Linked DNA regions of Homo sapiens: regions 1 and 2 are each linked to region 3. Evidence: promoter capture Hi-C in 16 types of primary human blood cells and fetal thymus (Javierre and others, 2016). All regions are on one chromosome and are shown on one strand. Each heading gives the region's core, a stretch centred on a gene start or on the middle of the fragment in contact. The rest is flanking DNA. Distances are from core to core; before and after follow the strand shown. Region 1 holds the start of NOL10 (nucleolar protein 10). Region 2 holds the start of GREB1 (growth regulating estrogen receptor binding 1). Region 3 holds the start of CIMIP5 (ciliary microtubule inner protein 5).

Region 1 (2,700 bases), core at 15-2,514, 440 kb after region 3:
GGTATTTGAGAGTTTCCAAAATGTTGTGGGTAGGAGAGCAAAACAATAATATTTGGGTTTTAGAAAGTAAGGCATAAAATAATTTGTTCATTAAATCAAAGGAAGTAAGAAGATCACTTGGGAAAGTTATAATCCAAAAATAGTTAAGTATTTGAGTTTCAGCAGGAGGAATGAAAACAGATTACTTTAAGGAAATATTTCATAATTAGAAATATCCAGGTTTAGATACTGAAAGTGAGGGCCAGAGATAGGAATGGGTTGAAGATGACGCCACAGTCTTCTTTTTTTTTTTTTTTTTTTTTTGAGACGGAGTCTCACTCTGTTGCCCAGGCTGGACTGCAGTGGCACGATCTCAGCTGACGGCAACCTCTGCCTCCCGGGTTCAGGCGATTCCCCCACCTCAGCCTTCAGAGTAGCTGAGATTACAGGCGCGCGCCACCAGGCCCGACTGATTTTTGTATTTTTAGTAGAGACGGGGTTTCACCATCTTGGCTAGGCTGGTCTTGAACTCCTGACCTCAGGTGATCCGCCCGCCTCGGCCTCCCAAAGTGTTAGGATTACAGGCGTGAGCCACCGCACCCGGCCTACAGTACTTCTAACGTAACATCGCAGAAACACTGGAGGAGAGAAGAGAATACACTTCCACTCGGAATTCGCACCCTGGTCGCCTTCATTCGCTGGGTTCACTCGCTGAACTGCCTCGCCCCCGCCCGGGAGGATGACATCTCGGCCTGGGCAGAGACTCGAAAGCCTCCTCCTGCCGCTCGGGATGCTAACAGCAGGGAGAGCTGTGTCTAGTTTTTTTTTTTTTTTTTTTTTTTTTGAGAGGGAATCTCGCTCTGTCCCCCAGGCTGGAGTGCAGCGGCGCGATCTCAGCTCACTGCAACCTCCGCCTCCCAGGTTCAAGCAATTCTCCTGCCTCAACCTCCCGTGTAGCTGGGACTACAGATGCCGGCCACCACGCAAGGCTAATTTTTTTGTATTTTTAGTAGAGACGGGGTTTCACCATATTGGTCAGGCTGGTCTCGAACTCCCGACCTCAGGTGATCCGCCCGCCTCAGCCTCCCAAAGTGCTGGGATTACAGGCGTGAGCCACCGCGCCCGGCTTGTGTCTAGTCTTGCCCGTAGCAGCGTCGCCGACAGCCACGCCGGGTTGTCAGAGCCTCACTAGTTTTTCTCCCGGCCGCCGCTCTTCCCGGATTCAGCCACCTTCCCTCTTCCGGGAACTTGCCCGCGTGTTCCGGCTCCAGGAAGTGCGTCATCAGTCGGCGCCAGCGGCCGCACGCCGCGGAGCAGGGGCTCGGAGGTCCCGGGATTACGGTGCTCGAGCACGCTGGTGGGAAAGGACCCGGGACTTGAACAGTGTTGTGCGGCGCCATGCAGGTCTCCAGCCTCAATGAGGTGAAGATTTACAGCCTCAGCTGCGGCAAGTCCCTTCCTGAGGTGAGTCACTTCCCGGCCCCCTCACTCTCGAGCTCTTGGGGGTCGTCCTCCTCGTGGGGCAGCCGCCCCTCTCCTCGGCCCTAGCCTCTGTTTTAGCTGGACGCTGGTCACCCCCCGACTCGGGGAGGCCCAGAGGCGGCTGACAATTTCCGGGGGAGGTGTCGGCATTGGGAGACAAGGACACTGCCGTCACCGCGCCAGAAACTGGACCAAGGGATAATCAGGGTCAGTGAGCTTTGCTGGAACTTTTGTAAAGTTCTCTGTTCCAGAGAACGCAACCATTTGGGCCTCTTTGGGTGTTCACAGTCCCTGCCGTACATCGAGGAGGAAAACGTGGCAGATTCGTTGACACATCTCTCCCCCATATGGCCATCAGCTGTTTGTGGAGTCCCTATCATTTGCCAGGTCTTAGGGATACAACAGTGAACAAGGGAGATACAGACTTCGCATCTGCAGAATTTATGGTGTAGAGGACAGTATTTTCGAGACTTGTTGAACTTAACCTGATTCCTAGTCTTAAAGTTGGAGAGGGCTTGGACAAGTCGGTAATTCTCTTCCAATCTTCTCGTGTTTAGTAATGCAGCTGAGATTTAATAATGCGTTTAATATGCAGCTGAGATCCAGCAAGGGGAAGGGTGACTTGTCCAGCATGACACACTTAGGCTCTGAAACTTGTCTTTTGTTTCTTATACGTGATGATCCAGCCTCTGTCCAAGCACTACCACTGAGCACTACCTTTTGTGGAAGCTCATTTCCATTTTGAGACTCTGCACTTGTTAGAAAGTGGTTTTCAAATATGTCACCTTATAGCATGCCACTGTTGGCCTGAGTCCTGCCCTTGGAAAACAGAATAAATATAGCTCTCCTTCCATGCGTCTGCTTCTACAAAAATTTGGAGCCAGTGCTTAGGTTTTTCCTTTCTTCCTAAAATTCTGGTTTGAATAATTCCCTGTCTTCCAGTTGTTCTTCACACCCCATGAGCTTTCTCATTTTGTTCATTCATTCTCCACATGTATTGAGAAGTTACTGTGTGCAAGCAACTCTGTTTTAAGTATTGGGATCTATAGTGGACATTTCAGATAAGGTTCCCTGTTGGGGAAAAGGGAAATAAACAAGTGAGCAAATAAGGCAATTTAAGGTAGTCAAAAAGTACTTTTCGTGGTGAATGATTAGAAGAGAGCTGTTTTGGATAAAATATTGAGAGAAAGTGTTTTGGATAAAACCTTCGGGGAAGGCCTCTCTACAAGAGGTGACATA
Region 2 (2,830 bases), core at 70-2,569, 400 kb before region 3:
CACAGTGATGAAAAGATGGAAGGGATGCCATTAGCTAACTAGAGGTTCAGGTTTCATAAACTTCCAGAAGCCAGACTAGAGAGGGAATGTGGAGCTGACACAGGAGAAGGGTGCATACCTGGGGGGACCAACTGGCCCTGAGGAAATGCAGAGACTCAGATACGCCAGACAAGTGTTGGGAGGAGTGCACAGCAGCGCTGGGACCAGGGGTCTTCTGTGAAATCCTGTCTACAGAGCAGGTAGCTCCTCTACCTCCCACCCCAGGGCCACATGCAGATCTCCCAGGAGCCAGGCGTTCACCCCAGGCAAAAAATACCGAAAGCTCTTCTGATACAAATTGAATCAACCAACAAGAACTAGAGCCGCTAACGCACAGTCTGGCATTCAGAGGCCTCCAGAATGCCAGCTGATTCTGTCCTGAGCACCCCAAAAGTGACACCTGCCAGACACCAGCGCCCCCTGTGGACACAACACTCCCAGTCAACCTTCTCTGCCTCACTCTTAAACACACATGAAAATCCAAGGGTCATGTAGCACTTAAGGAAGGAAACATGAAAACAACATCCAGGAGAAGAAACAGAAGAAAAGACACCAAAGCAATCAGAGAACAACCAGGTATATGTGAAGAAGAAGCACACATCCCCCTCTAATTACCATCCTCAGGAAGACTGAGGGCCACACTCTGTTTCCCAACCAACCCAATCACTGAGCCACTCAACAATCACACAAGAGGAGCTCTCACGGGTGAGCCTGTTGATCTGGCTTTACTGCTGAGGGGCCCCCAGGTAAACTGAAGAGCTGTGCAGAAAGGCTGGGGGTATGAAAGCCGCACGCTCCCCACTTCAGCACACAGGGTCAGCAAGAGTTGCAGTGATGTTCCCACATACAGTCAGTTCAGCTATAACGCTTGTTTTGAAACTGCAAATTTGTACGGACAGATTGACATATTACAGAACAATTTGAATACCTTGTGGGTTTTGTGTGTGCCTGGTGATTTCCTCTGCAAGAAACACAAAAGTAAGTTCAGAAAAATGGTGCCCAACTGACCCCAGCTGCTTGAGAATATACAAAAGGCGCACACACACCAGCCTCAAGCACCTACCACCTACCTCCAGTCACCACACGTGTTAAAAGCCATGTCCTTCCACACATGGTGTCAGAACTTTCCATAGGGCTCCAGGTCTCTGTCCTTCTTCCATTTGGCAGGTCCTCAAGAGCTGCAAGCCTTCCATTGAAAAAACTTTATTTCATTTACCTTTGCACTTTGAGGTAAAATCCCATCTCTACTGCAGTATTTATGTATCTCTTAACCATTTAGCATGTGTAAAACGGTGCTGCCCTTTTTATTAGGTTTTTATCTTTTTAAAAAATGTGTCATTGATGAAGTTTTTGAGAGCTGTTGCCCTAAGCCTGTATTCGTCATAAACCCTGCGGTTTTTATTGCCCAATCTTGCATGGTGCAATAATTTTTAGGAACACATATATCAAGTTATAGTAGAATTGATTATGTGTTTACATTTCTGCCTGCAAGCTACAATTTTCTCCTAGGGGAGAACATGGCGGGAGAGCATGGTGTGCAGATTCTAGTTTAGAAAATATGGTCCACACAACTGAATTTCACACCAGTCACCCCTAGTTCATTGTTTCTGGCTACCCCAAAACGTTCATCACCGGCTTGCCTTTCTCCCTGCACTAAGCTAGAATCTCAAAGAACCAATTGTTGGGTTTTGTTGGTAGCAATCTGTGTATCATCCATTTTTTCCTCCATCAAACACAAAATTAAATTCAAGCATAAATAATGAAATTGTTGTTCCCGGCTTCTGTTTACAGAGTCTCAGGGACGCTGTGGAGCTGGGTGTGCCTGGGTCCAGTCCCTGCCCCCTCACCCACCGGAGCTGTGTGACCTTGGACAGCCTCCCTCACTCCCTGAGCTCCAGTTTCCTCAGCCATAAACAGAGATAACAGTGCTGACTTCAAAGCTGACTTTGTGAGGATTAAATGAGATAATGTAGTAGAGTATTTAGTACTGTGGCTGGCACTTCAGTGTTTTCCCATTTATCTGTTTTTTTCAAGATGAGTGATCTCTTTGCTGATCATAAACATATTCCTCCATCTGTCTTGTGTTATTCGCCTGCATTGAAATCCCATCCCAATCCCCGTCTCTATTTGAAAGTGGAGCTTAAAAATTGCAAAAATGAATAATTGGGATGTGCAAAACCTCTTAACTTGTAGCACCAAGTTTTTTGTCTCATGTTGATCAGTCTCTCTCTTCTTGCATTTCTCTCCCATTAGTTTGGAGTTGCCATTCATTCCTTCATTTATTCATTCACTCAACAAACATTTATGGGTGCCTGGTATCTACTGGCTATGTGACTGACTTAACTTCCCAGAGCCTCAGTTTTCTTGGCAAAATGAAGATAATAATACCTCTATCATAAGGTTGTTGGAAGGCTTTCCATGACACCAGGACCGTAAAGCACCTTTTACACCGTCTGCCATATGGCAGGTGCTCAACAAAGGATATCTTTAAGCAGTATCATCACGATGACAATGGACAAGCCATATCCCTAACAGGGCTTAAACCTGGATAACAAGAACACTGTTTCCACTGCGCTAGTGGGGACAAGCACACACATCGCTGGGAAGATCTGCAAGCCTCCCTCCTCCCACAGACCCAAACATGCTGCTGCAAATGTCTCACTGGCTACAAAACAATGAGTCTGATTACGACCCACAGAAATGAAAAGGCAGCAAACTTGTTTAGGTATGATTCATCATTGTCTGCTGCGGCAATCAGAAGTATTTTGGTTGCTTCTAGGTCAGAATGACC
Region 3 (2,700 bases), core at 106-2,605:
GGGGCGTTGCTAATCAACGGGTATGAAGTTTCAGTGGTGCAAGATGAATGCATCCTAGAATCTATCAGGCTGCTCACTTAAAAATGTAATCGAGATCATGCCATGTTCCCGCTTAAAATCCTGGATGGTGTCTCCTTTGGAAAAAATGCATCCAGACTTTTATAAGGGCTGGGGTGGCCCCCGCTGCTCCCCCTCATCCTGTGGCCTTCCTCACTCCCTGTGCCTCAGCTACACGAATTCTTTGTTTTGTTTTTTAGATACATCAAACTCTTGGCTCCTTCTCCTATTTCATGTCTCAGCTTAAATGTCTCCTCCTCAGAGAGGCCTTCAGCCGGCTCTGCCCCCGACCCTGAACTGTTTCCTTCTTACCGCTGGTCACACTTCATACAGATTTGTACTTGTTTGCTTCTCTGCTTGCTTTTTGGCTGCCCTGTCCTGAGTATGAAGGCTCGGTGGAGCCATGGCCAGGTCTGTCTAGTCCCTTGTTGCAGTCTGGTCTCGTTTCAGAGCGGCTCATGGGTATTTTTGGTTGAATGAATGCATGAAGGAGCATCCTTTCCCCGAGTCAGGTCAGACAGCCAGCTCCTCTAACCCAGACTAGGCCAGCAGGCTCCAGCTCAAGGGATTACCGGCCGCGTCGCAGTCGGAATGAACGAGGTGGGGCTGCTCTGACCCAGCGGCATCTGGTCTTGGCTTCCATCTTCCTCGCTTCTTAGGCTCAGGCTCGGGTCTGGCTCTGGGCTGGGCTGGTGACCCACCTTCCCCCGGGCATGCCATGCCCTCTGTCCCTCAGCCAGATCATTTGCCCTCCCATCTCCCTTTCTCCAAAACCTTCCCCAACTTGCAGTCAGGCTGCGGAGTCAGGGTGGAAAAGGGAGGGCAGGTACTCACCAGCGCTGCTGGCCCCGCCGCTCGGCCTCCAGGAGCTCCCGCCACAGCTGGTCCTGCTGCACGCCATCGCAGGCAGCTCCCTGAGCCACCCGCTGCGCCTTCAGAGCCTGGGGGGCCTGGCAGCCACCAGCAAGACCCCTGCTGGCCATAGGGCCACCCCGGGCAGCTGGGGAGACCGAGGCTGGTGGCCTGGTGGGGGGCAATCGGTACCCAGCTGATGTGGTTCTCTGGAGCCCAGGGGTGGGGTGGCTCCCCATGGTGCAAGTGTGTGTGTGTGTGTGCGCTTGTGTCAGAGAGAGAGAGAGAGAGACCTGTGCCTGAGCTCAGCTCAAACCTCCTCCTGGAACACTCTGTCCCTCCTAACCCCGGGAGAGCCTGGGCAGGGTCCTCCTCACTGTCCCTTTAGGCCTCGAGCTCAGAGTGGCCGATGGGGACAGGGCTCTCCGGGCTGGGGAGAGCATTTGAGCCCAGTTTCGTTTTGAACTCCCGCCTGTGCTGTGTTGACTGTTGTCCTGGGAACGGACAGCTCCTAGGAAAGGGGCGGGCCCCGTGTGTGTGTGTGTGTGTGTGTGTGTGTGTGTGTGTGTGTGTGTGATCTGAGCCCTAGGGCTGGGGGGCAGAGAGTTCCTGACTAGATGCCACGCCCAGTTCAGCAGCCCCCTACCCCAAGGCCGGAGTCCTCCGCACAGGGTGGGGGAGGGGGAGGGAGCAAAGCTGGGGCTCCTGGGGGCCACCCCCACCATTATTGCACTTGCTTCCGGCAGCCCGTCAGGCCGTGGGGCGATGTTAGTCCTGTGCTGCCCCCTCGTGGATGCTGCGAGGCTCGCAAGAAATGGTGGCCCTGAGGGCGCTTTGGGAATTGTGGATCAGGCATCAGTGTGAAGCTTCCTGCTTGTTTGGGAACGATGGCGGAAGTCATGAGCTTATGTTGGGCGAGGAAAATGAGTGCAATGCACTAGGAACATCCACTCTGTCTGCAAACCCAGAGCGTTCACACAGCACTCTGCTTTATCTGAGACCTCCCAGCCATGCCTTTCCAACGCCATTCTACAGATGAGGAAACTGAGGCCCTTACCGGCAAGATTAAGTGACCGCCCACGGTCACACAGTCAGTCACCAGCTGAAAGGAACAGTGAGAATCTGAGGGCTTATGGTCCGAGCCCTCAGCCCTGTTTCTGCTCTAACTGGGTACAACCAGGCTCCCTCCGTGGCAGCCTCTCCTGGTCTGGCTCAGCTGAGCTCCATGGACGCCCGCTGCTCTCATCACTTCTGCCTCCTGCACTCTCTGCTTCCGGTTCTCTGAGTTTTGTGCTGTTCCGGTAGGTGCTGGCAGATTCACAGTTCCTTCCACGCAGCTTCTCTGTGGGTCCATTCAGCTGGCGCGCTGCTTCCTATCTTTGTAAGGGAAGAGCTAAGTGCAGACAAAGCCCTGACGAATAGAGGCCTGCGCAGAGTGCCCGGGGTGCAGGGCAGCAGGGCAGCCAGTGAACCACTGAGCTCGCACTGTAGCCAGTCCTGTGTGCCCCTGCTGGATTCTGCTTCTATGAGGGAGGCAGCAAGGAGTTGGGACTTCACAGGTGAAAGGACTTGCCAGGTAGAAAAACTGGGGTGACCACAAAAGCTTGGATGCAAGAGAGAGCCTGGTATTTTGGGAGATGTGGGGGAGGAGACAAGGACGGGGGTGGCAGGGCACATGGGGGCAGGCCCCGGGGTATTTTCCACGGTATCCTGCACCCAGTGGGGAGATACCGATGGGCTGTGAGCCCCAAGGGAGCTGCAGGGAACAGAACCATCAGGACAGGGGCAAAA

The links. The method cuts DNA at HindIII sites, captures the fragments that hold promoters and counts their contacts. A CHiCAGO score of 5 or more calls a contact.
Region 1: the fragment with the promoter of NOL10 here is called in contact with the fragment with the promoter of CIMIP5 in region 3 in 2 of 17 cell types (M0 macrophages and non-activated CD4 T cells); the score reaches 7.3 in M0 macrophages.
Region 2: a contact is called between the fragment with the promoter of GREB1 here and the fragment with the promoter of CIMIP5 in region 3, in 9 of 17 cell types (M0 macrophages, erythroblasts, megakaryocytes and 6 more). The highest score is 9.9, in M0 macrophages.

The regions. Positions count from the first base shown.
Region 1 is chr2:10,688,539-10,691,238 of GRCh38, reverse strand. It overlaps NOL10 (nucleolar protein 10), which reads left to right and starts at 1,264. Exons shown (of 21, transcript NM_024894.4): 1 at 1,264-1,443. The coding sequence starts at 1,378. It also overlaps the pseudogene RN7SL832P. RefSeq lists enhancers at 1,418-1,697, 1,758-1,817. The HindIII fragment of the contact is 7,879 bases long and covers 1-2,700 here.
Region 2 is chr2:11,532,534-11,535,363 of GRCh38, reverse strand. GREB1 (growth regulating estrogen receptor binding 1) reads right to left here and starts at 1,319. Exons shown (of 33, transcript NM_014668.4): 1 at 1,110-1,319. The HindIII fragment of the contact is 4,942 bases long and covers 1-2,830 here.
Region 3 is chr2:11,131,783-11,134,482 of GRCh38, reverse strand. CIMIP5 (ciliary microtubule inner protein 5) reads right to left here and starts at 1,355. Exons shown (of 3, transcript NM_001371321.1): 1 at 892-1,355. The coding sequence starts at 1,148. FLJ33534 (Putative uncharacterized protein FLJ33534) reads left to right here and starts at 2,307. Exons shown (of 9, transcript NR_040080.1): 1 at 2,307-2,468. The HindIII fragment of the contact is 3,513 bases long and covers 1-1,777 here.